2 separate regions of the Homo sapiens genome follow, and region 1 is linked to region 2. The links are contacts of gene promoters, found by promoter capture Hi-C in human tissues and cell types (Jung and others, 2019). All regions are on one chromosome and are shown on one strand. The core of a region is centred on a gene start or on the middle of the fragment in contact, and the rest is flanking DNA. Distances in the headings are between cores, read along the strand shown. Region 1 overlaps LINC02694 (long intergenic non-protein coding RNA 2694). Region 2 holds the start of EIF2AK4 (eukaryotic translation initiation factor 2 alpha kinase 4).

Region 1 (5,966 bases), core at 2,054-4,553, 1.2 Mb after region 2:
CCAGGCTCAATACGAGCTCTGCTAGGTTCTCGCTGTGCGACTTTAGGCAAGTGATTCAACATCTCTGCACTTCAGGGTCCTCATTTGTAAAAAGAGGATGACAGTGCCTCCCCATAGAGGGGTTACAAAGATTAGATGAGTTCCTGTAATTAAAGACCTTGGCACCATTCCTGGCCCTCATCTGCTGTGGAAAGTGGGGCATGGCACTGCCAGGCCCAGGTGCATAGGAAACACCTGGGCAGGGAACAAATCTGGTACTAGATAGAACTCTTTTTTTCCCCCAGAGAACTCGTACAGGTTTGCCTGTCTTTCTGAAAAGCAACTAGAAGTTATTCTTTTGGGATATGGAGGAAGACATCACAAATGCCATTATTTAGCTATGTATTTTCCCCTTTTTATCTCAATTCTTAAAACAGAACGACTTTCTCTTTGACATCAAATTGATAACAGGCTCTTCCCACCCACTTCAGAGTCAATTCTAGCCAGCTAGAAAAAGGAATCCACAGCAAGGAAATCACAGTTCTGATTAGATGCCAGCTTCTTCCCATCAGGTATGAGATAATGATTGAATCAGACTGGATGGATGGATAAAGTTGCTCCTGGATTGATGCTGAATGATAGTTATATCTAATCTCTGTGCATAGAAAAGCCAAGCCAGCCAGGCAAAGTGGCTCACGCCTGTAATTCTAGCACTTTGGGAGGCCAAGGCGGGTGGATCACCTGAGGTCAGGAGTTCAAAACCAGCCTGGCCAACATGGTGAAATCCTGTCTCTACTAAAAATACAAAAATTAGCCAGGCGTGGTGGTGGCGCCTGTAATCCCAGCTACTCGGGAGGCTGAGGCAGGAGAATGGCTTGAACCTGGGAGGCAGAGGTTGCAGTAAGCTGAGATCTTGCCATTGCACTCCAGCCTGGGCGACAGAGGGAGACTCCATTAAAAAAAAAGAAAAGAAAAGCCTACTGACATTAGCAGTATTATATGGTCGAAAAATAGCCATCATAATAATTTACATTGGTCTCATTTTTATTGAAATGAGGCCATGCAAAGCCACATGTAAAGATGAATTCAGCAAAAACCCAAACCGAATGAAATACTGGTTCAGAGAATATTCTTATGTTGTGATTGTGTCATGCCTAACAGAATTTAAAAATAATGGTCTAAGTAATTCTAAGTGGTTTCACATAAATAATTGTGGATAGAGTCCAAAATAGGTATTTTCATAGATTTTTCTGAATATTAGTTCAAGTTCAATTTATTCTGGATTTTGATTTCAGTCTCTGGTGCTTGTAACTTTTATTTTATACATCTTATCCCAGTAAGTTGTCCTTGAAAAAAATAGTAAGAGCCTTGTCACCTACCCTTTAAAATGTTTTCAAATATAAAAATATAGAAAGTTGTACAGGTCATAAACATACAAGTCAATTTTCACAAACTGAATACAACTGTGTAATTAGCACCCAGGTTAAGAAACAGAACTCAGCAGCACCTCAGAACCCACTTCATGCCTCATCTCCCAAAAGCAACCTCTATCCTGACCCTTAACTACATAGTTCAGTGCATCGGTTGGCTCTTGCTGCAGAACAAACAATCACAAAACTTCAATATTTTATCATTCACTCACGGGGGTGGTTGTGTAGGCAAGTTGGTTCATCTTGGCTGGGCTCTTGCCAGGTCTGTCCCACAGGCCTTGGCCAATGGATGAAATGAGTACTCAGACACAGGTATGCAGTATAAAAGCAGCTAGGTGACTGGCTGGCTCTAACGGCCAGACAGCAGCCTGGAGAAGCTGGAGCTGCTTGCTTTTATTCAGCTCAGGCACAATGCCAAAAACCTGGAGCCAACACAACCTGTAGGTAATTAACATTTATTGTTCTCCTTCCAGAGAAAGTCAGGTGTGTGGATGATCAAAGGTCAGTTCCTGGTCAACATAAGTAAACAAGCCTGTTTAAGATAAATTCCCCTACACTCCTTTGTACTTACTCCTTGCCCTCTGCCTCAGGGTTATAGAACAGCTGCTTTCAGCTATTCTCTCCTGGGGCTCTGCAGGAGCTTCCAACCTTTCAGAAGGTTTGCATCCTTTCCCTATAATTTTTCCCACCACTGTGACTGATCCCCCACAGACTTTCTCTTGCACCTTGGGGGTTGGGGGACAGCTCGCCTCCAGCAGGCTAGCCAGGCATGGCCATGGTGATAGCAGAGAATAAGAGAACAAACAGAAATATGCAGGCATCCTCTTTATTCAAGATAGGATCTGACAGAGCCAGGATTAGAGTGAGGCTAGTAGAGTGAGGCTAGTAAATTGAGTTATGCAAGTGCAGGGTCAGCTCCTGTCTTTATCGAAATTTTGTTCACAATGGATTTTCTTGCATTAATTTTGATTTTTCAAAAACATTGCATTCAATATTATTTTTCTTGATTACTGAGGATTTTGGTGCCTCCTTAATTTTAAGGCTGGGGCAGTTGCCTTCATTGCCTCACCATAGTCCTGACCCTGCTGGGGAAATACACTCCACATCTTCAGTGAAAGGAGCTGCAGTCATATGGCAAAGGGCATGGATTTTAAGAGATGAAGAGTTAGAGCTGCTAGTACAATCAATCTACCACAATTAATTTTGGCCATTTTTTACACTGGGCGCAGTGACTGATGCCTGTAATCCCAGCACTTTGGGAGGCTGAGGCAGGAGGATCACTTGAGTGCAGGAGTTTGAGACCAGCCTGGGCTATACAGGGAGATCCCATCTGTACAAAAAGTTTTTTTTTAAATATTAGGTGGGTGTGATAGCATGCTCCTATAGTCCCAGCTACTCAGAAGGCTGAGGTAGGAAGATCCTTCAGCCTGGGAATTTGAGGCTGCAGTGAGCTGTGATTATGCCACTGTACTCCACCCTGGGTGACAGAGCAAGACCTTGTTTGGGGCCCTTTTTTTGTTTTATATAAGTGGAATTGGACAATGTGTATTCTCTTGAGTCTGGCATCTTTTTCTTAATGTAATATTTGTGAAATACATCCAGAGTGTTGTGTGTAATTGTAAATCATTCATTTTCATTGCTATACAGAATCCTGTTGTACAAAGACACCACCGGGTTGAAAGGCATTCGGATAGTCACCATTTACGGCTATGAATACCATTGTGTTGAACAATCTAGTATAAATCTCTATTAAATATATATGCATTTTTGTTGGACATGTACATAGGAATGGAATTGCTGGGTCCGAGGGTGTGTGTACATTCAGTTTTAATTGTTGCCAGTTTCCCAACAATTCGTTTAGCTTTATTAAAGTTCTTGGTATGTAGTAGTATCAGTCTTCCAGTTTTGTTCTTTTTTAAGATAGTCTGGCTATTTTTGGCTCCACATTTCTAAATAAATTTTAGAAATAGCTTCTCAATTTCCACAAAAGAAAAAACCTGCTGGGATCTTTACTGTGCTAGTTTTGAATTTGTAGACTAATTTGGGAAGAACTGACATCTTTTCAATATACCTCCATGTCATCTTAAATTTTTCTCCATGTCTCATACCTTTGTATATCTACTTTGAATAAGACAGGTAGCCAATAAATATATAAAATAGGTGGTTAATTAATGCATTACAAGGCTTTAGACTTAATGATATTTTTTCAGCCACACTACTCACCTGCTATGGTTCAAATGTCCTCACCAAAACTGTTGTTGAAATTTAATTGCCGTTGTTACAGTTTTGGGAGATGGGGCCTGTAAGAGGTGATGAGGTCCTGAGGGCTCTGCCTTTGTGAATAGACTCATGCTGTCATCACAGAAGTGAGTGAGCGATCTTGGGAGTCTGGCCCCCTTTTCCTCCCTCCCTCCCTCTCTGTCTCTGTCTCTCTTTCTCACACTCCCTCTCTTGCCCTTCTGCCTCCCTGCCATGGAATGACCCTTCCTGGAGGACAGCACCATGCTCTTGGACTTCCCAGCCTCCAAAACCATACACTAAATAAATTTCTCTTCATTATAAATTACCCACTCTGTAGTATTCTGTTACAGCAACAGGAAACCTACTAAGACAACCTCTTCCAGACACCTGAACTCATTCTTCTCTTCCATTCCCCTAGGCCTTGCACATGCTCTTCCTTAGTCAGGTAGAATTCCCTCCCTGCCCTCTCTCCCTCCTGCCTGACTAAATCTAGTCTTCCTTGACAAGTCTATTCAAATGTCACTGCTCTGCAGAGTTACCAATTCCTCTTTGTTTTCTCCCACTGCATTTCTTCACCTGATTTTAAGTTGCCATGTTGTATTAGAATGAGCTGCTCGGGTATCCACTAAACACTTGGTTGCCTACCAGAACCAGCCCAGCACTAAGTAGATTTGTGTTGGATAAATGAAAATGACCATTCCGCTTTTTGCTGGGCTGTTTGGTTTAGGTGTTTTTGTTGGGCTGTTTGTTAGTTGATTTGTTTTGTCTTTGTAGGACTTCATTTGAATTGAAATTTAGTCAAAGAAAGAAAAATTGTGTTCCAGTTTGGCAAAGGAGTACATGTCTATCTGATTTTTGCTTCATTATTTATTTTGATTTGAAAATATGTCTTTATATTAAACCTCTTTACAATATGGATTTGAAGCAGATAAATTGTTTGGTCTGATTCACATCACAGCTTCTGAGTTAGCTTAGAAGAAAACCATCAACTGATGTTTCCGGTAACCAGCAGCAAGAGAGCTCATGAAAAGGCAGGCACACCTCCAGTGACCACTAGGTGGCAGTTTCACTCTCAATATGACCAGATTGACAATGTCCATCCAAGAAGTCTGGGGCAGGTAAGTTGGAGCACAAGACCAAGCTTAACTAGGCCTGTGGGTGGAAAAATGAAGACCCAAACTCAGCCCTGAAGAAAATGGAGTTATGGAAAAAACAGCACATGGAAAATGTAAAGGAATGCCACTAGACATTATTTCACTGAAAGGTTAGCTAAGTTAACCACAGCCACAAAATCAGTAGAGAAAAGACGTGCCGGACCCGAGACAGGCCAGACAGTGTTGAAAGGCAAAGGAGTCTCCAGTCCACCCTCCATGGCTGGAGCCCAGACCCCTGGGGAAAGGCAGGATGGTTGCAGGCTGGTCATTGCTGAGCCCCTGGTAATGTGCCGAGTGACCAACTTCAGGTGTCTCTCCGCCAAGACTGCTTGGTTCTCCTCTTCTGAGTGACCCCAGAAGGAACCCCTGAGAGACACTGCTTAGTCTTTCTAGTTCCCATTCCAAAGTTGGATAAGGGACTTTTCAAGCTTAAAGTGGGAACGAGGGGCAGGGCTTATCTCCACAGGAAGCCAAGGTGGCTCCTATCATAGCAAATCAAGATACTTCATGGGTACACCCACAACAGGCCAGCCAGGGCCCCTGAGGAAATTATGTGGACTATTAACCTTAAGGAGGCTGCAGGCCAAAAGCATCAACCGACTTCTATCAGGAGTGTATTTTTTTTTTTATGATGCAGAATAGGGAATAGGGAAACTATCCTGGAATAGGGAAACTGAGGCCCAGAGCAAGCCAGGGATGAAACAATTCCATCCCCCGTGACTGAGAAGAGAGCCTTCAGGTAGGCTTGAGGAAACAAAAGCCCTGAGGAAGCTGTCTTGGCAATGTCCAGGTTATTACACTATAACATCCACTCATACGTTTGTGGTAGGGCTTCAACTTTTACACACGAATAACCTGAGTGATCGAATTACCTGTTCTCTTCTCTTTCTCTGCTACCAACCCCAGAAAGACTGCAAAGAATAGACACTTGAGTCTAAACCAAACTGCTAGGCTCAAAGAACACTGCACCAGCTATGAGGTAATAACCACCATGGGTTACAGGATCTGTGAACGGGATAAGCTCCTTTACTTCCCCCCGGCTGGAGTGTGAGTTATAAAACAGACTAACAAGGAGAGGGAGAGACAAGTTTTCAGGAAGAGCTGGTAAGAAGGCACCTGCAGCTTCTCCCCAACATCTTACACACCACACCGACATCAACCT
Region 2 (6,149 bases), core at 1,359-3,858:
AGTTTTGGATAAAAGGCTGGGCACGGTGGCTCACACCTGTAATCCCAGGACTTTGGGAGGCGAGGCGGGAGGACTTGAGGTCAGGAATTCGAGACCAGCCTGGCCAACATAATGAAACTCCATCTCTACTAAAAATACAAAAATTAGCCAGGTGTGGAGGCGGGTACCTGTAATCCCAGCTGCTCAGGAGGCTGAGGCACAAGAATCGCTTGAACCTGGGAGGTGGAGGTTGCAGTGAGCCGAGATTGCTCCACCGCACTCCAGCCCGGGCGACAGAGAGAAACTCCCTCTCAATAAAGAGTTTTGGATAAAGGATTTTGGACCTGCATCACTTTTCCCTGGCAAATAGCAGGTGATAATAAGTGCTTGTTGAATGACTAAACTCTGATTCATCCTTGAGACCATCAATTATTTGCCTGCCAGTCCTATGAATGTGTTGAGGCCATTTGCCCGGTGTACAATAGGCCACAGACAGCTATTTAAATTCTTCTGCCTGCCTTCTATAGTTTTTGCTTTGGTTTGTCTAGTATTCCATCTTGTTATGAAAGCCACCAGCTATAAATTCTTGAGGTTATCAATATCCCTACCTAAAAGAAGTTGCTTTTTCTCTTCCATTTTTCTGCAGCCCTAGGAGCAGACAACTAAGCTTGTATAAAGTAAACAAACTAGTTCAGAATGAAGCCTTAGGAGCTTTGTGTTGAGTCCCATGTACACTTTGAGACACCTATTTTGGCTGCTTCTTGGGCCTACTTCCTGATTCTCAAGGTTTGGGAAGATAGAAGTTCCCCAGTCACCAACTTCTCTGTCATGTTAAGGGGAATAATTTATATTTTTACCATTTCAGGTTAAAAATAACTTCATATTATTAAGCATTAGAAAAGTAAGCTCCCTGAGGGCAAGGATTTTTGTCTGTTTTGCCCACAGCTGTATTCCTAATGCCTAAAACAAATATTTAATGAAGGAAGAAGCACCCTGAGTTTGAGAGAGAATATTTTGTCCTGATAGCTCCAGAAGATGGTATTTCTTGAGGAAATCCTGGATGTGTAGATAGAGCAGATGTTGTGAAATGCCAAAGTTAAAAGCAGATGAAGAGGCCAGGCGCGGTGGCCCACACCTGTAATCCCAGCACTTTCAGAGGCCAAGGTGAGAGGATTGCATGAGCTCAGGAACTTGATACCAGCCCGGGCAACAGAGCAAGACTCTGTCTCTACAAAAAATTAAAAAAATTAACCAGGTGTAGTGGCATGTGCCTGTAGTCCCAGGTACTTGACAGGCTGAGGCAGAAGGATTGCTTGAGAATAAGCTGCAGTGAGCCGTGGTCATGCCTCTGCACTCCAGCTTGGGAGACAGAGCAAGACCCTGTCTCAAAAAGAAAAAAAAAAAAAGCAGATGAAGTTAGAACTATGTTTTAAATGATAATATGATAATATTCAGAAATAGTTTGGTAGATCAACTCTTCAAGGATGGGGAAAAAACTGTCAGTATAAATACTTTATAACGTGCCTTAATTTCCAGACAAAAAGGCAAAATATTATTTTAAACAAAATGCCATTTTAAAAGGTCTAGAGCTAGAGCAAGCTGGTCTAACCCGAGGCCCATGGGCCGCTTTGAATGTGGCCCAACACGCATTCGTAAACTTTCTTAAAACATTGAGGTTTTTTTGCGAATTTTTTTTTTCTTTTAGGTCATCAGCTATCCTTAGTGTTAGTGTATTTTGTGTGTGGCCCAGGGAAGCCAAAAGATTGGACACTCCTTCTCTAGACTCAGTCTAGAACCCTCTCTCTACTACAGCTAAGATGAATGTGTGCTTTATTCTGAGCTAAATGTCTTAGAGGAAGGTGCAGAGGTATGGAAAGTTCCTCCATACCGGAAAACACAGTGAGGATGCCTGGGGAGTACAGAGGGAATTATGTGGCGTGCAGATTTGAATGCATGGATGAGACTTGAGAATTCTGATTGAGGACGTAAGGCCTGTGCGAGAGCCCAAAAAGCGTTCTCAGAACAAAGTAGCAAGGGGCGCGTATGAATTGCTGTGGTATCATCCGCAAGGGCTTTCAGAGGGGAAAAAGGACAAGGTTGGAAGGAGGCAGTTATGTTATGGGATGTAGGCAGGAATAAGAAGCAGTGCCAGGTAAGAGGGAGGAATCCAGGGGGATTCCTCTGGGGAAATCATGGGGAAAGGACTGTAGAAGAATTCGGCCTAGGTGGGATTCTGCAGACCAGCTGCAGGTGCAAGGACTAAAGTGAGCATGGGTGGAACCTAAGGGATGAAAAGACTGCAGGATCCTAAAGCGGCGGCCCAATCTGGAAGTGTCCGGGCTTTGGCCCAGGGCCCGGGGAGGCCAGGGCACGCCAGCCCGGGCCTGACAAGCCACGTTCCTACCGGTCCGCAAGCGTCCGGCCGCAGGTCTTGGAAGTCCGCGCCGTAAATGGCCTCCAGGGCCTGTAGCTCGTGGTCCTGTCGTTGCGGGTAGCTCTCCGGAGGCTCGTCCCGGCCGCGCCCGGGGGCCCCACGGCCCCCAGCCATGGCAGCGCTGCGCCCAAGGCAGGGCGGCCTTGCCTGGGCGGCGGTGGGCCCCCGGCAGCCTGCGGGGCGGGGCTCCGCGCTGGGGACGGGCTATGGGCGGTGTTCCACGCTGGAAACGGGCTCGTGGGCGGGGTTCCGCGCCGGGGACGGGCCGTAGGCGGAGCTCCGCGCCGGGAGCTAGCTCCGGAGGCTCCAGAAGCCCAGGCGAAGGAAGAAGGCAGGGGGACAGCTTTGCCCACATCCTGCTGGGGGAAGGGGAGCAAAGGAACTCCACGAACTTAAGAAATGAATCACAGATAGGAATGAAAACGCCACATTGTATAGTTTTCACGAAACAAGTATCTTTAACAGAAGTGCTTGCTGGAACTTCTCCACCCTGGCATGGCTAGTGCGGGAAACTCTTTTTTCTTTTTTTTGGCAGAGTTTCGGCTCTTGTTCCCCAGGCTGGAGTGCAGTGGCGCGATCTCGGCTCACTGCAACTTCCGCCTGCCGGGTTCACGCGATTCTCCTGCGTCAGCCTCCAGAGTAGCTGGGACTACAGGCGCGCACCACCACGCCCGGCTAATTTTTCTATTTTTAGTAGAGATGGTGTTTCACCATGTTGGCCAAGATGTTCTCGATCTCCTGACCTTGTGATCCGCCCGCCTCGGCCTTCCAAAGTGCTGGGATTACAGGCATGAGCCACCGCGCCCGGCCGGGAAACTCTTAAAGGGCAGACGTCGATGGGTTCTGAGGTCACTTCTAATTTCACCTTGTACCTTCCCAGAACAAGACTACCGGGAGTAAAAATTGTGACCCCCCCCACCCTCCTTCCTCCCACTTTAGTACCCCCAAACTTATTCTCTGAGCCACAGATTCAACACCCTCATTATGTTCTCTGTCTCTACATTCCCCAGCTTTGGGGATCTCCACTACCACCTTGCAAATTCAATTGAAAACTGTCTTTCCACTCAGGCATCTTTATGAGCTACCTTCCCATGAAGAGAATCATGTTCCCTTCCCAGTTCACTCAGTGTGAATTTAGGGAGTCTTTGTGTTATATCCTGCCTCAAGTCGTCGTTTTTCAAGTTTATAAAATAATAACCTGTCTACCCAGACATTGTTATTGCACTTCATCTTCAGTAACTTACTAATGCTGCATGTCCATTTCGAATAATCCTATTGTACTAACCCAAGTTAGGTTTAAGTGACGTTTCTTCTGTCTACCTTGCTTACTCCTCCACTGTTCACTAAATAATGATTGTGTAAATTCCTTGCTGCCATCTATCCACTCATTTCTGGCCAGATAACACAAATGCACTAGCTTGACCCAAGGCCAATTTAAATCATCATCTTCCCTCTGCTGGAGACCCGTTCCTTCTCCAGTGATCTCTGACTAGGTAAATGGCACCATTCAACTGAGTGTGATTCTGAATTCCCTTTCTCTCAACTCACATCCAAATAGTCACCACTTCTGTCCATCCACTACACTCTAACCCATTGCCACTAACTTAGTTCAGGCTACTGTCACCAATTCCCTGGGTTACTTCAATAACTCTCTTAATTAGTCACTGTCTTCATTCTTGCCCCACATTAAGCCATTCTTCCTATTGCAGCCAGAGTAATGTTTCTAAATTGCAAATATGGCCATTGCACTCTAATCCTTAAAATTACTCCATTTCTCTATTGGTCTTTAAAAAAATTCTTTTAAACCTATATTTATGAAAATGTCAAACATACTTAGAAGTAAACTCCTCTGTACTCATCATCCAGCTTCAACAACCATAGATATTTTGTCAATTTTATTTCATCTCTTCTCTCCATCCCTCAGGAGTGTTTTTTTTAAGTCTCAATCATATCATTTTAAAAAATAAATACCTAAGGATATATCTCTAACTAGAAAAGGAACCAACATAACATATTACTAATCTTATACCCTAAAAATGTAACCCTTTGGCCAGGGACAGTGGCTCACACCTGTAATCCCAGCACAAGGTGGAGGATCACTTGAGGCCAGGAGTTTGAGACCAGCCTGGGCAACATAGCGAGGCCCCATCTCTACAAAAAATAAAATAAAAAATTAGCTGGACGAGGTGACATGTAGTCCCACCCTCAGGAGGCTGAGTGGGAGGATTGCTTGAGCCCAGGAGTCCAAGGCTGCAGTGAGCTGTGATTGCACCACTGCACTCCAATCTGGGCAACAGAGTAAGACCTTGTCTCTTAAAAAAAAATTAACAATTTCTTAGCATCGTTTAATACCTAATCTATGTTCAAATATTTCCATTGTGTAAAATTAGAATCTATACTGGACGCTGGACCTATAAAAGATATAATTAAAACAAACAGCAAAATTTGAAAGGAATCTGTGGATTACATGGCAGTATTATACCAAATGCAGCATTAAGGGGGCAGTGACGTATTAAATATGCAGTTAGCTCCCAAATGATTCAGGAAAAAGAAGAGAGATGATGCTAAATCAAATGTAGAATGTTGAACATTGGAGAATTTAGGTGAAGGATATATGAGAGCTCTTTGAGTGACTTGAAAATTTTATGTAAGTTGGAAATTATTTTAAAGTCAAAGTTCAAAGCAAAAAAAATAAGAAACTGTCAAAGTGTTTTCCAAAGTGGTTGTACCACTTTATATTCCCATCAGTTTATGGGAGTTCCAGTTGTTCTACCTCTTTGCCAGTAATTGGTATTGTAATGTTTTTAATCTTAAACATAGTAATTGGTGCTTAGCAGTATCTCAGTGTGTCTTAACTTGCATTATCCTAATGATTAATGATGTTGGGCATCTTTTCATGTGATTATTTTCCATTCATATATCGTCTGTCTTCTGTTTTTATTCACATCTTTGGTGCATTTTAAAAATTTTGTTTTTGTTTTCTTATTAACTTTTGAGAAATATTTATATATTCTGGACATGTATTTTTTTTTTTTTTTTTGAGATGGAATCTCACTCTGTCACCGAGGCTGGAGTGCAGTGGTGCGATCGCAGCTCACTGCAACCTCTGCCTCCCGGGTTCAAGCAGTTCTCCTGCCTCAGCCTCCCGAGTAGCTGGGATTACAGGCATATGCCACCACGCCCAGCTAATTTTTGTAGTTTTAGTAGTGACGGGGTTTCACCATGTTGGCCAGGCTGGTCTTGAACTCCTGACCTCGTGATCTGCTCGCCTCAGCCTCCCAAAGTGCTGGAATTACAGGTGTAGGCCACTGCACCAGGCCGGACATGTCTTTTATCAGATATGTGACAGGCAAAAATATTCACCCAGTCTGTGGCTTGCTTTTTCATTCTCTTAACTGTATTTCAAAGAGCATGTTTCTTACTTTAGAGGACATTTAATTTGTCATTTTTTTCTTACATGAATTATGTTTTGCAGTCATATCTAAGAAATATTTGCCTATCCCAAGGCCAAAAAGGTTTTCTTCTATGTCTTCATCTAGATAGTGTTAGATTTTACCTTTTGGCCTATCATCCATTTTAGTTAAAAACTTAAGCATATACCTACTATATGAAACAGCAATTCCATCCCAGGCATTTACCCAAGAGAAACAAAAGCGTATGTCCATACAATGACTTGTATGTAAATATTTGTAGCACCTTAATTTGTAATATCCCCAAACTGGAAACAAACCAAATG

What was found. Contacts are between HindIII fragments. The study calls those that stand out against the background at their distance.
Region 1: a fragment that was not itself captured here is called in contact with the fragment with the promoter of EIF2AK4 in region 2 in 1 of the 25 tissues and cell types used here (hippocampus).

Annotation. Positions count from the first base shown.
Region 1 is chr15:38,698,580-38,704,545 of GRCh38, reverse strand. It overlaps LINC02694 (long intergenic non-protein coding RNA 2694), which reads right to left. Exons shown (of 2, transcript NR_160786.1): 2 at 4,508-5,966. Among named protein-coding and RNA genes, the nearest start is that of LINC02694, 5.0 kb to the right of the region's middle. The HindIII fragment of the contact is 3,418 bases long and covers 1,595-5,012 here.
Region 2 is chr15:39,930,574-39,936,722 of GRCh38, reverse strand. EIF2AK4 (eukaryotic translation initiation factor 2 alpha kinase 4) reads right to left here and starts at 2,608. Exons shown (of 39, transcript NM_001013703.4): 1 at 2,384-2,608. The coding sequence starts at 2,527. RefSeq lists a silencer at 2,326-2,735 and an enhancer at 2,756-2,895. The HindIII fragment of the contact is 10,364 bases long and covers 1-6,149 here.